2 separate regions of the Homo sapiens genome follow, and region 1 is linked to region 2. Evidence: promoter capture Hi-C in human tissues and cell types (Jung and others, 2019). All regions are on one chromosome and are shown on one strand. Each heading gives the region's core, a stretch centred on a gene start or on the middle of the fragment in contact. The rest is flanking DNA. Distances are from core to core; before and after follow the strand shown.

Region 1 (6,632 bases), core at 3,666-6,165, 770 kb before region 2:
TACATGTTTATGCACGTCTTTCTCAGAAATGATACTTCAGGCAGTACAGAAATACCTTCTATCCTGTTACTTTCACTTTCTTTCTTTCTTTCTTTTTTTTTTTTTTTTGAGACAGGGTCGCACTCCACCTCCCAGGCTGGAGTGCTGTGATGCAATCTCAGCTCACTGCAACCCCCACCTCGCAGGCTCAGGTGATCCTCCCACCAGCCATCCTCCCACCTCAGCCTCTTGAGTAGCTGGGATTACAGGTGGGTCCCACCACACCCAGATAATTTTTTGTAGTTTTGGTAGAGACGGGGTCTCACCATGTTGCCAGACTGGTCTTGAACTTCTGAGCTCAAGTGATCCACCTGCCTCAGCATCCTGAAGTGCTGGGATTCCAGGCATGAGCCACCACACCCGGCCTATCCTGTTACCTTCAAACTGAAAATAATCTGTGAGTACTCAATTTTCTACCGCCCTTACTATGAAAAATAAGTTCTTTGGCATTAAAACCCGTCAGAGACTTTTGTTATTTTCTGCATCCTGAGGTGGTTACTTTGGATGTGGTATCATGAAGGCTTTCTTGAAGTTAGCTTTCATTCATCTCCTTGCTGCTATGACTGTTTGGGTATCGAGAACCAAGAGACTTTGACAGGTACTGTACTCTCGATTGGCTTCACATCAAAATTCAAGCACTGACAGGTGACGACTGCTATGTGCTTTCTGATGAAGTGTTTTTGGGAACTGTAACCAACATGTGACAAGATTTTTTTTTTTTATGGAACAAGATTTTTTTTTTTAAATATGGAACACTTCACAAATTTGCATGTCATCCTTGCGCAGGGGCCATGCTAATCTCTGTATTGTTCCAATTTTAGTATTTGTGCTGCCGAAGTGAGCACAAGATTTTTATATGTTATATGTTTCTATACCAACAGTGTCATCAAATCTCAGGTTTTAAAAGGGAAGGTTATTTTAAAATCTGTACTAATATTTACCTCAGGAAGATTACCAAGGCAAGGATTCATGCCTATCTCCTGCCCTGCTGAGAGAGGTGGGTCTTCGTCGCAACCTGCAATTTTATTTATCCATACAAGGCAGGTCAAATCACAGACTTGGGCAGGGTGTGGTGGCTCACGCCTGGAACCCCAGCACTTTGGGAGGCCAAGGCAGGCTGATCACTTGAGGGTGGATTACTTGAGGTCAGGAGTTTCAGATCAGCCTGGCCAACATGGCGAAACCCTATCTCTACTAAAAATACAAAAAAATTTAGCAGGGTGTGGTGGTGCACCCCTGTAATCCCAGCTACTCAGGAGGCTGACATGAGAATCGCTTGAACCCAGAAACTGAGATCACGCCACTTCACTCCAGCCTGGGCAACAGAGCAAGACTCCATCTCAAAAAAAAAAAAAAAAATCCCTGACTTTTCCAGTTTACCAAGACTACTGCCGAAACACTACTGAGTGCTTGAAATCATGCTCCAAAGCTTAAAACGTATTTTTCTTATTCATCCACCAAGATTGATGAAGTCAAGGAAGTGCCTAACATTAGATCATTGTACATCCTATGCCTCATTTTCTCTTCAATGGGAAACGGAAGTGGGTTATATAAGGTGATACACAGAGCAACTGCAGCTGTCTGAGGACTGAGCAACAACACGCCTGAGCTATAATACTGAGGATGGCAGAGTTCTTATTGATACCATTTGCTTTCATTAATCTGCAATTTTCACAAAGCAGACATTTCCTTCTATGATTCCTTTGGAGAAATAAGTTTTTAATTATACTAGAATCATATTCAATAACACTCTTCAGAATCATGAATGCCCTCCTTGTGACATGGCTGGGACGCACAATGATCTACTGATTGAAACAAGGGCTTTGGAGTCAGAGGCCTGGCTTTGCTGCTAATTAGTTGTGTGATTTTAGACAAGTGACTTCATTTCTCCAAGTATTATTTCCTCATTCATCAAATAGGGATGCTACGACTTACCCATGGGAATTAAATAAGATAATGCAAGTTAAGCATAATTGTTAATAAGATTATAAGAAAGTTTTTAAAAAATATTTTTTCCTTAATTTTTAAAGATTTTTCTTTTTCCTTTTTTTTTTTTTTGAGACCGAGTCTTGCTCTGTCATCAGGCTGGAATGCACTGGCACAATCATGGCTCAGTGTAGCCTTGACCTCCTGGGCTCAAGTGATCCTCCTGCCTCAGCCTCCTGAGTAACTGGGACTACAGGCATGCACCACCATGCCTGTAGAGACAGGCATGATTTTTAAATTTTTGCAGAGACAGTATTCCACAAGGTTGCCAGGCTGGTCTGGAACTCTGGGCTCAGTGATCCTCTGACTTCAGCCTCCCAAAGTGTTGGGATTACAGGTGTGAACCACCACACCCATCCTAGAAAGATTTTTTTTTTTCTTAAGACAATGTCTCGCTCTGTCACCCAGACTGGAGTGCAGTGGCACGATCTCAGCTCACTGCAATCTCCACCTCCCAGGTTCACGCCATTCTCCTGCCTCAGCCTCCCAAGTAGCTGGGACTACAGGCGCCTGCCACTACGCCTGGCTAATTTTTTTGTATTTTTAGTAGAGATGGGTTTCACCGTGTTAGCCAGGATAGTCTCGATCTCCTGACCTCGTGACCCGCCCGCCTCGGCCTCCCAAAGTGCTGGGATTACAGGTGTGAGCCACTGCACCCAGCCAAAAGATTTTTAAAAGATTACATTTCTATCCTGTAATCCCAGCACTCTGGGAGGCCAAGGCGGGTGGATCACTTGAGGTAAGGAGTTTGAGACCAGCCTGGCCAACATGGTGAAACCCCACCTCTACTAAAAATACAAAAATTAGCCAGGTGTGGCAGGTGCCTGTAATCCCAGCTACTTGGGAGGCCGAGGCAGCAGAATCACTTGAACATGGAAGGCGGAGGTTTCAGTGAGCCTAGACCGTGTCACTGCACTCCAGCCTGGGTGAGAGAGCGAGACTCCGTATCAAAAAAAAAAAAAAGATTACATTTCCTATCCTAATAGCCAAGTCTACTCCTATATCTCTAAATGGCATTTTTACCAAAAAAAAGTAATGTAAAGAAGATCTTGTTAACTTAAGAAATAAAAGGAATCTAATGGTGATCCAATTAAGTTAAAAAATTTCTAAAGCTCGGCCAGGCGCGGTGGCTCACGCCTGTAATCCCAGCACTTTGGGAGGCTGAGGTGGGCGGATCACGAGGTCAGGAGATCGAGACCATCCTGGCTAACACAGTGAAACTCAGTCTCTACTAAAAATACAAAAAATTAGCCGGGCGTGTGGCAGGAGCCTGTAGTCCCAGCTACTCAGGAGGCTGAGACAGGAGAATGGCGTGCACCCGGGAGGCGGAGCCGAGTTTGCGCCACTGCACTCCAGCCTGGGCGACAGAGTGAGACTCTGTCTCAAAAAAAAAAAAAAAAAAAAAATTACTAACACACAAAAAAATAGTGTGCTCTAACCAGCAAGAAAACTTTTTTCCTCATCATAAAACTCATGCCTTGCCCGGAAGCAAATACTATTTAGATGCCATCATTTGGTAGTACCCTCATTTTATACTTGGATAGGATCCCATGTAGGATTCCAATATTTTACCCTTCAGGCCCCAATTAACTGATTTATACTCTACAGACGACTAAAATACAATAATTCAGCTGCAAATCACTTCCAATTTAATTCAGTGAGTTATTTACCATTTAAGTTAGACCACTGTCAGTCCTCTCTCGAACCCTCCAATGGCTTACCATCCCACTCCAGGTAAAAGCCACACCTGGCTCACCTCTTTCAGGCCCTGACTTAAATGTTACTTTCTCAGCCTTCCCAACTCTGTAACTGCAACAGCTCCCCTTCCACCTCCCACCCTCATATTTCTCTATTGCTTCTCTGCTTTTTTTTTTTTTTTTTGAGAAGGAGTCTCACTCTATCGCCCAGGCTGGAGTGCTGCGGTGCAATCTTGGCTCACTGCCACCTCCAACTCCCTGGTTCAAGCGATTCTCCTACCTCAGCCTCCTGAGTAGCTGGGATTACAGGCACACACCACCACACCAGGCTAATTTTTGTATTTTTAGTAGAGACGGAGTTTCACCATGTTGGCCAGGATGGTCTCGATCTCCTGACCTCGTGATCCGCCCACCTCGGCCTCCCAAAGTGCTGGAATTACAGGTTTAAGTCACCGTGCCCAGCCTGCTTTATTTTTTTATTTCAAGAACCATATGGAGATAGGCTACAGCATACATTGTTCCTTCTTCTTCTTTTTTTTTTTGAGACAGGCTCTCTCCCTGTCACCCAGGCTGGAGTGTGGTGGTGTGATTATCTTGGCTCACTGCAACCTCCGCGTCCTGGGCGTAAGCGATTCTCCCACCTCAGTCTCTCAAGTAGCTGGGAGCACAGACATGCGCCACCATGCCTGATTAATTTTTGTATTTTTTTTTTGGTAGAGATGGTGTTTCGCCATGTTGCTCAGGCTAATCTCAAATTCCTGGGTTCAAGCAATCCGCCTGTCTCGGCCTCCCAAAGTGCTATGATTTTTATTACCTGGAAAAGGAACCACAGGCCAAGCATGGGCCATCACATTCATCCTGTGGCTCCTTTTTGGGGTAATAAAAGTATTCATAAAATATTCTAAAATTGGTTTCAATGATGGACGCACAACTCTGTGAATATACTCAAAAGCACTGAAGTGTATACTTTAGATGGGTGAATTATATAGTATATGAGTTATATCTCAATAAAGCTATTTTTAAAACCTGCCTGTTTCTTTTCTCTCTGTCACCAACTAGAAAGTAAGCTCCATGAATGCACAAACTTCTGTTTTATTTAGCACAATGCTTGGAATATCAGAGAACCTCAAATATAGGGGAAGGAAGAAAAGAAGGGAGAGAGGAAGGGAGGGTGGGAGAGAGGGAAGGGAAAGAAAGGATGAATGCAGGAAGGTAAGAAGTGAAAGGATAGAGGGAGGAAAGAAGAGAGGAAGGAAAGAATACAGGGAGGAGGGGAGAAGGAGGATAGAAGTAACTGCCAATGAAGAAACACCCAGAGATCACCCAGCTAATAAGTCCTCAGAGATGCAAATTACGCACTTGAGATAGAGGACAGATTTTTTTTTTTTAAGACAGGGTCTTGCTCTGTTGCCCATGCTGGAGTGCAGCGGCGTGACCACAGCTCACTGCAACCTTGAATCCCTTTGCTGAAGCTTCCCCCTACCTCGGCCTCTCAAGTAGCTGGGACTACAGGCGTGCACCACCACACCTGGCTCATTTTTTTTTTTTTTAAGTAGAGACTAGGTCTTGCTATGTTGCCCAGGCTGATTTCAAACAGGGCTCAAGCGATCTTCTTGCCTCAGCCTCCCAAGGTGCTGGGATTACAGGCAGGAGCCACTGTGCCCAGCCAGAAGACAGACAGAGCTGTCTCTTTGGACCTCTTCAAATCTTTTTCTGTGAGGCCTTTAGGTGGGAACCTTTAAAACAGAATTCTACTTATACCCTCAACAGCTTCTAATCACACTAAGAAGAAAACACAAACCTCCTATCTTGGCTTACATAATCTGACCCTGTCTACTGCTTCCACTTCTTCCTTCTTGGAGACCAGAGCCCACCACGCCCTTCCCACTGCCTGGCTTTGGCAAAGGCCACCCGCTGACCTTCATGTCTCACCAGCCACGTCTCAGGGAGCCACCCCACTCTCCCCCCTCCCCCCCACTCTCCCCCTCTTTCACAGTCTTCCTAACACTCACTTTGCTATTTTCTTACACGTGCATTGTCTACCACCCCCTCTAAAATTAAGTCCCGTAAGAACAAGGACTTATCTGTCTTGTTCACGCCTATATCCCTCAGGCATAGAAGAGGGCTGCCACAAGTCTGTGCTATTTGTAGAACAAAGACACAGAAGCTCCAAATTTAGGAGACGATTCAGGAAGAGAGAATGCTACAAAGGCTGAGCAGTATTTCTAGAAGAACGCCAGCTCACAGTTACAGAACCCCTCATCCACCTCCCCAACTTGGCAGTTCCTTAAAAACAGGGATGGGCGGCATTTGTCCTCTAGGACCAACACCAAACATGTGCTGGCTGAATGGGGGGGTCAGTTTTCATTGAATTTGTGGTATTCACTTTCACAGACTCCTTCTCCAGTAACTACTGGTTTGTGCTTTAAAACAAAATGTTTTGCCAGGCGCGGTGGCTCACGCCTGTAATCCCAGCACTTTGGGAGGCCAAGGCGGGTGGATCACGAGGTCAGGAGTTCGAGACCAGCCTGCCCAACATAGTGAAGCCCCGTCTCTACTAAAAATACAAAAATTAGCTGGGTATGGTGGCATGTGCCTGTAGTCCCAGCTACTCGGGAGGCTGAGGCGGAAGAATCACTTGAACCTGGGAAGCAGAGGTTGCAGTGAGCCAAGACTACGCCATTGCACTCCAGCCTGGGTGAAAAAGTGAGACTCCATCTCAAAAAAAAAAAAAGTTTCACCATGTTGCCCCGTCTGGTCTCAAACTCCTAAGCCCAAACAATCCACCTGCCTCAGCCTCCCAAAGTGCTGGGATTACAGGCGTGAGCCACTGTACCCAGCCCCAGGCACAGATGTTCTTAATGTGACCTACCTAGAATGATGACTCCTTCTCAAAAGGTTTACAATTTA
Region 2 (7,083 bases), core at 3,784-6,283:
GGGAGAGCTGATCTAGCCAGTCCCCCTCTTGCCTTTGGCCTCTAAGCTGCCCTTAATTATTCCTGGATTTGGGCCAAGCTAACTTTGGGAGACATTTAGTTTACAGTTTAAATGAAAATAGCCCTTCCCTAAAACGCAGCCACCTTTGTAAAGCTAATGAGAAACCACCAGGCTAGGAGCACAGAGAAGCCCGAACTCTGCTAAGATTGCCAGCCATTATTCCAGGGGTCACAAGCTAGGCAACTTCCCCAGTTACTCCTGCAGATAACATCACTATTGCAGAACCTAAGATTGGCCTTTGGAGATATCTTTTCAGGTTTTTTGCATGTCTGACACCAACAACTCCACATGGACCCCACCCACCACTCCTGCGGCCCCCCTCAGAGGTGACTCAGCCTGCAGGAGGACCATTTGCCACACCCCTAAGGTTGCACCCCCAACCAATCAGCAGCAAGCACCCATTGCCTAGCTGCCACCACCCCTTCCCCGAAACTACATTTAAATAATGTCTAATCTCTGAGCCTTCCAGAAGATTGACTAATAATACCAACTCCCACGTGGTGTGGCCAGCCTTGTGTCAATTAGTCTTTCTTGACTGTAATGCCATGCTCTCCATGAAATGATTTCGTTTGTGCTGTGGGAACCCATCAGGTGGTTATAGAGGTGGCATAGGCTATGAAAACACTGGTTGTCTAAAACAGGGGGAGATAACAATTATGAAGGGCTAGTGTACACGAGTGTGTGCTCACTAACATGAGGGGACTAAAGGAGTGTCCCCACTAGATGTTCCTGTTTTTCTGGTGGATCTGGGGAAAAAGAGGTGGGGAGGATGCTGGGGTTGCTATGCAATTCTCACCGAGGGAGGAATTTGCTGGTATAATGATTATACATTTTTCTTTCTTTCTTTCTTTCTTTTTTGAGATGGAGTCTCGCTCTGTCTGCCAGGCTGGAGTGCAGTGGCGGGATCTCGGCTCACTGTAACCACTGCCTCCCGGGTTCAAGCGATTTTCCTGCCTCAGCCTCCTGAGTAGCTGGGAATACAGGCGTGTGCCACCATGCCCGGCTAATTTTTGTATTTTTAGTAGAGACGGGGTTTCACCATGTTGGCCAGGCTGGTCATGAACTTCTGACCTCAGGTGATCCACCCACCTCGGCCTCCCAGAGTGTTGGGACTACAGGCGTGAGACACCTCACCGGGCCTCTTCCTTTTTTCTTTCTTTTTTTTTTTTTTGAGCCAAGGCGGGCAGATCACTTGAGGTCAGGAGTTCGAGACTAGCCTGGCCAATGTGGTGACACCCCGTCTCTACTAAAAATACAAAAATTAGCCAGGCATGATGGCGGGTGCCTGTAATCCCAGCTACAGGGAAGGCTAAGGCAGCAGAATTGCTTGAACCCGGGAGGCGGAGGCTGCAGTGAGCCGAGATCATGCCACTGCACTCCAGCCTGGGCGACAGAGTGAGACTCTGCCTGAAAAAATAATAAATAAATAAATAAATAAAACTATGATCAATGCTTGAGCCTAAGAGTTTGAGGCTGCAGTGAACTATGGTTGCGCCACTGCATTCTAGTCTGGGTGACAGAGCAAGGCCTTGTCTCAAACAAAACAAAACAAAGCAAAACTATGATCAAATACATGTGTATGCCTTTTCTCCTATTAATCACTTGTGTGGTATTCCTGCCAAAAATGCATCATCTGAATCTAATCATGAAGAAATATCAGACAAATCTGAATTAAGGGACATTCTACTGTAGGTGCCAAGGGGCCCTCTGAAGTTTCGCTGCAAAAAATCAACTTACAAAAGGCAGAGTAATAGTCAAAAATGTGTACAAATTTATGTAACATGTACATATGGGAGCCTTCAGAAGGAAGACCCAAAGATACAGGGGAAATTGTACATTTTTATGCAAATGATTGAACATAAAAGGTATGATCTAATGCTGATAGACTGAGTGGGGAGGCCCAGCAAGGCCTGTCTGTCTAGATTCTTCTTGGCCTCTTGGAACAGGCATTCCTTCCTTCTGGGTGTGGGGGAGGACCCTCTCTGGAATGGAGTCTTATGGCCTACAGTCAAACAAGCTAGGTCAGATAATTTCTTTTTGGCCAGTTTTTACACCAAAAGAAGGAGGGAAAGTTAAGAGTAATATATTTAGGGTTTTTTTTGTTTGTTTTTTGAGACAGAGTCTCACTCTGTCGCCCAGGCTGGAATGCAGTGGTGCAATCTCGGCTCACTGCAACCTCTGCCTCCCCGGTTCAAGCGATTCTCCTGCCTCAGACTCCCGAGTAGCCGGGACTACAGGCACATGGCACCTCGCTCGGCTTTTTTTGTATTTTTAGTAGAGACGGGGTTTCACCGTGTTAGCCAGGATGGTCTCGATCTCCTGACCTCGCTATCCACCTGCCTTGGCCTCCCAAAGTGCCAGGATTATAGGCGTGAGCCACCGCACCCAGCTTATATTTAGGGTTTTATGGCTGGCTTTGGGGGTAAATGACTCTGTTTTCTATGACCTGCCTTGGGGAAGAGGATTCTAACTTCTCTGGCTAGGCTCGGGGGAGAATGCACCTGAGGGAGAGGAGGACAGAAGGTAAAAAAAAAAAAAAAAACAACTTGCTTTGTGGGTTGCTTCTGAGGCCTTCATTTTGGGGTATTGTTTTCTGAGACCCAACACTACAAAACAATGGGCTTATACACTTCAAAAGTGTTAATGTCAGCCAGCCAGGCGCAGTGGCTCACGCCTGTAATCTCAGCACTTTGGAAGGCTGAGGCGAGCGGATCACATGAGGCCAGGAGTTGGAGACCAGCCTGGTCAACATAGTGAAACCCTGCCTCTAATAAAGACACAAAAATTAGCCAAGTGTGGTAGTACATTCCTGTAGTCCCAGCTACTCTGGAGGCTGAGGCATGAGAATCATTTGAACCCAGGAGGCGGAGGTTGCAGTGAGCTGAAATCATGCAACTGCACTCCAGCCTGGGTGACAGAGGAAGACATCATCTCAAAAGAAAAAAAAAAAGCGTTAAAGTCACAGAAGAAAAGTTCTTTGTTCTATTCTTGTAATTCTCGTGTAAATTTGAAATTATTTCAAAATAAAAACTCAGCAAATTTAGCTCTTCATCTAAGTCTTTTCTATTCAATGCTAAGTACACCCCTTATCATTGTTACATTAAGAGCAATTGGTTTCCTAGAATATTAGAACTAGAAGGTCAGCTGTCAAGCAGCCATTTGTTCACTCCACAAAGATTTCCTGAGCACCTTTAGCGGGGCAGGCACTGTGCCAGGTACAGAGAATAAACTAGACACCCTCTCTGCTGTTGAAGGGGCCTGAGATCAGCAGCTTAATAAGACAAATGAGGATCCTGAGGTCCTAGGGGTTAAGAGTGTGTATTATAGTTCTATTATTCAAATTATGAATGTTATGCATCTCTCGTAGTTTTACTTCTGAGAAAACCAAAGTCATAGTATTACACAGACTACAGACAGGCTAGGCGCAGCGGCTCACGCCTGTAATCCCGGCGCTTTGGGAGGCCGAGGCAGGTGGATCAACAGGTCAGGAATTCGAGACCAGCCTGGCCAACATGGCAAAATCCTGTCTCTACTAAAAATACAATTAGCTGGGTGTGGTGGCGAGCCCCTATAATCCCAGCTACTCGGGAGGCTGAGATAGGAGAATCGCTTGAACCCAGGGGGTGGAGGTTGCAATGAGCTGAGATCATACCACCACACTGCAGCCTGGGCGACAGAGCGAGACTCCGTCTCAAGAAAAAAAAAAAAAATGACTAGAGATGATTCAACAAATCCCTGAATCTCCCTTGTCTACAATCCCACTGGGCAGAACTGTTTTTGTTTTTTGTTTTTTTTCTGTAGAGACAGGGTCTCACTATGTTGCCCAGGATGGAGTGCAATGTCACAATCTTGGCTCACCGCAACCTCCACCTCCGGGGCTCAAGCCACCATCCCATCTCAGCCTTCAGAGTAGCTGGGACTACAGGCGCATGCCACTACACCCAGCTAATTTTTTGGTATTTTTTGTAGGGATGGGGTTTTGCCATGTTGCCCAGGCTGGTCTTGAACTCCTGGGCTCAAGTGATACGCCCGCCTCGTCCTCCCAAAGTGCTGGGATTCCAGGCGTGAGCCACCGCGCCCGGCCCTACACTAGGTTTTAACAGTAAGTGTGCATTTCCCACTTTGATGACGGTGATGGCGAAAGCAAAGAAGTCTGGATTCCAAGACCTCTAGTAACTGCCAGGTTGCGGGGGAAAATGTCTGGTTTCCCAGACAGAAGGCTTAGAGCAGCACCGCCCGCTTGGTCTCATTCTAAGTCCCCGTCCACCCCTTGAACAGCGCTCACAATCCCACACCCAGGGCCCCGGAACCCACGCCTCTGCCAGTAAAGACGCCATTATCTTAACAAAAGGTAACTGGAGCCTCTCCCCAAAGAGACTGGTTCCCGTCCCATTCTTCTCCAATCCGGGTGGATTTGGCAAAAGCCCAAGTGACCCTCCCTAGCAATTCCGCAAAGCCCCATCTCCCGCCCCAGACTCCAGAGTCTCCCGACCACTCTCATTTCGGAGAGGCCTAGGGGCACGGACCCGGAAGCGTGACAGAGGCCGCGGGGTAAGAGGGGGGCAAGTGCAGGCGCAATCCCTCCTCAGCCTCGTTGTCCCGCCCCCTTCCCAAGGCCCCAGCCAACCTGTTCTAGGCGTCGCCGGTCCTCGGATTTCTTCTTTCCGCCTCGCGTGGTCACGTGACGGGGGAGGGGCGGGATACAAAAAGTGCTTTATTTTCCCACTCCCCGGACGCCCAGCAGGGCAGTTTCTTGACCTTCGGAGCCCCTTTCCCGAGGATCCGCTCGGGAGCCTCCCCTGGCCAGGAGCAGGGGATTAGTCTGCCCCGCGACCGGCCCCAGCCACGACGCGGACATCGCCCCCTCTGTCTGGGCCGCTGTCACTCACGCGCCAAAGGGCCACGGAGAAAGAAGGGGCGGGCCGGGGCGGGCCGGGCGAGCGGAGGCGGGGACTTGCGCCGTCCTGAGGCTGCCTCCTAGGGTCCGGCCGGCGCTGGAGCTGCGGATTTAGATTGTCACTGCCACCTCGGTCGGTGCTTACTTCGCTGCCAGCTGGTCGTCGCCATGAACCCGGACCTGCGCAGGGAGCGGGATTCCGCCAGCTTCAACCCGGAGCTGCTTACACACATCCTGGACGGCAGCCCCGAGAAAACCCGGCGCCGCCGAGAGATCGGTGAGGGCGGCGGGCGAGACCTCCCTCCTTTCCCGAGAAAAGCTGGAGACTCCCTCGATGCGGAGTCAGGGGCGCTGTGGGGCCTAGGCCCTCTGGCCCAGCGTTAGGGGAGCCGGGACCCCCACTTCGAGGAACAGCCTGTGTCCCTGGTGGGGGGATATCGCCATTCCCCAGGTGTGTCCGCGACTCTGAAGCCTATTGTGATTCAGGGAGGGTGGAACGGAGGCCCGAGTGTCTGTCTGCCTTTTAATGCCCTTTAACCCCCTTTCAGAGAACATGATCCTGAACGACCCAGACTTCCAGCATGAGGACTTGAACTTCCTCACTCGCAGCCAGCGTTATGAGGTGGCTGTCAGGAAAAGTGCCATCATGGTGAAGAAGATGAGGGAGTTTGGCATCGCTGACCCTGATGAAATTATGTGGTTTAAAAAGTAGGTATGCCTTAGAACAGAGCAAGTGTTGTTAAGCCTAAACTTTACAGCTGCGGTCTATGGTGGCCTTTCATCACCGTGCTTGGTGTTTGAAGATGCAAACTGGCATATTTTCATGCAACTTTATAAAGTTATATGTGTGGCCGGGCGCGGTGGCTCACGCCTGTAATCCCAGCACTTTGGGAGGCCGAGGCGGGCGGATCACCAAGTCAGGAGATCGAGACCATTCTGGCTAACACGGTGAAACCCCATCTCTACTGAAAATACAAAAATTAGCCGGGCGTGGTGGCGGGCGCCTGTAGTTCCAGCTACTCGGGAGGCTGAGGCAGGAGAATAGCGTGAACTAGGGAGGCGGAGCTTGCAGTGAGCCGAGATCGCGCCACTGCACTCCAGCCTGGGCAAGAGTGCGAGACTCCATCTCAAAAAATAAATAAATAAATAAATAAATAAAGTTATATGTGTGAAAAATAATGTGATCACTTTTGTATCCAAGCCTTTTCGTGGGATGACGTGTTTGTAGAATGCTGATAATAAATGGAAATGCAGGAGTTTTTGTTCTCAAGAGTACAGTTTCAAGGATGTTGTAAAAGCATTGTTCTGCCCAAGCAACTCAAATTTGACTGATTTAAATGCAGAATCATTTTGCTCTTTGTAAGGAGGACTGCTAAAATTCTGAATCTGGGAGCATTTTTTTTTTTAGTTGCACGACCATTTAAATATTTTGGAGCAATAGCAGATTATATTATATGGTAGTGTGGACCTGGATGAAGAATGATCTGTGACGCCTCTGAATGAATAGAAAGTCTAAGAACCCAGTAGTTCTGAATCCATGACAGTGCTTGAATGGTTGTCTTGTGCATATGAGAGAGACGTCATAAAAACCTGCCTTGGTTCTAGTGTGGAAGAGAGTATATCCTTTTTTCAGACCATGTGTTTTGTTGTGTTTTTTGTTTTTGTTTTTGTTTTTTGAGACGGAGTCTCGCTCTGTCGCCCAGGCTGCAGTGCAGTGGCACGATCTCGGCTCACTCCAGCCTCCACCTCCCGGATTCAAGCGATTCTCCTGCTTCAGCCTCCTGAGTAGCTGGGATTACAGGCGCCCGCCACCACACCCGGCTAATTTTTGTATTTTTAGTAGAGATGGGGTTTCGCCATGTTGCCAGGCTGGTCTCAAACTCCTCACCTCGTGATCCACCCTGCTCCACAAGGAACGGTAAAAATAAATAAAAATAAGGACTTCGGGCCGGGCACAGTGGCTCATGCCTGTAATCTCAGCACTTTGGGAAGCCAAGGCAGGTGGATCACTTGAGGCCAGGAGCTCGAGACCAGCCTGGCCAAAATGGTGAAACTCTCTCTACTAAAAATACAAAAATTAGCCGGGCCTGGTGGTGCGCTTCTGGGGTCCCAGCTATTCAGGAGGC

The links. The method cuts DNA at HindIII sites, captures the fragments that hold promoters and counts their contacts. A contact is called where the count stands out against the background at its distance.
Region 1: a fragment that was not itself captured here is called in contact with the fragment with the promoter of ACOX1 in region 2 in 1 of the 25 tissues and cell types used here (dorsolateral prefrontal cortex).

The regions. Positions count from the first base shown.
Region 1 is chr17:76,747,164-76,753,795 of GRCh38, reverse strand. All of the region lies in intron 7 of MFSD11 (major facilitator superfamily domain containing 11), which reads right to left. It also overlaps the pseudogene RNU6-97P. Among named protein-coding and RNA genes, the nearest start is that of MFSD11, 12 kb to the right of the region's middle. The HindIII fragment of the contact is 3,168 bases long and covers 3,332-6,499 here.
Region 2 is chr17:75,977,116-75,984,198 of GRCh38, reverse strand. It overlaps ACOX1 (acyl-CoA oxidase 1), which reads left to right and starts at 5,033. Exons shown (of 14, transcript NM_004035.7): 1 at 5,033-5,234; 2 at 5,506-5,665. The coding sequence starts at 5,126. TEN1 (TEN1 subunit of CST complex) reads right to left here and starts at 4,959. Exons shown (of 4, transcript NM_001113324.3): 1 at 4,688-4,959. TEN1-CDK3 (TEN1-CDK3 readthrough (NMD candidate)) reads right to left here and starts at 4,982. Exons shown (of 10, transcript NR_037709.1): 1 at 4,688-4,982. RefSeq lists enhancers at 277-571, 4,471-4,570, 4,692-5,275, 5,141-5,370, 5,276-5,859 and 1 more and a silencer at 4,991-5,060. The HindIII fragment of the contact is 12,830 bases long and covers 3,954-7,083 here.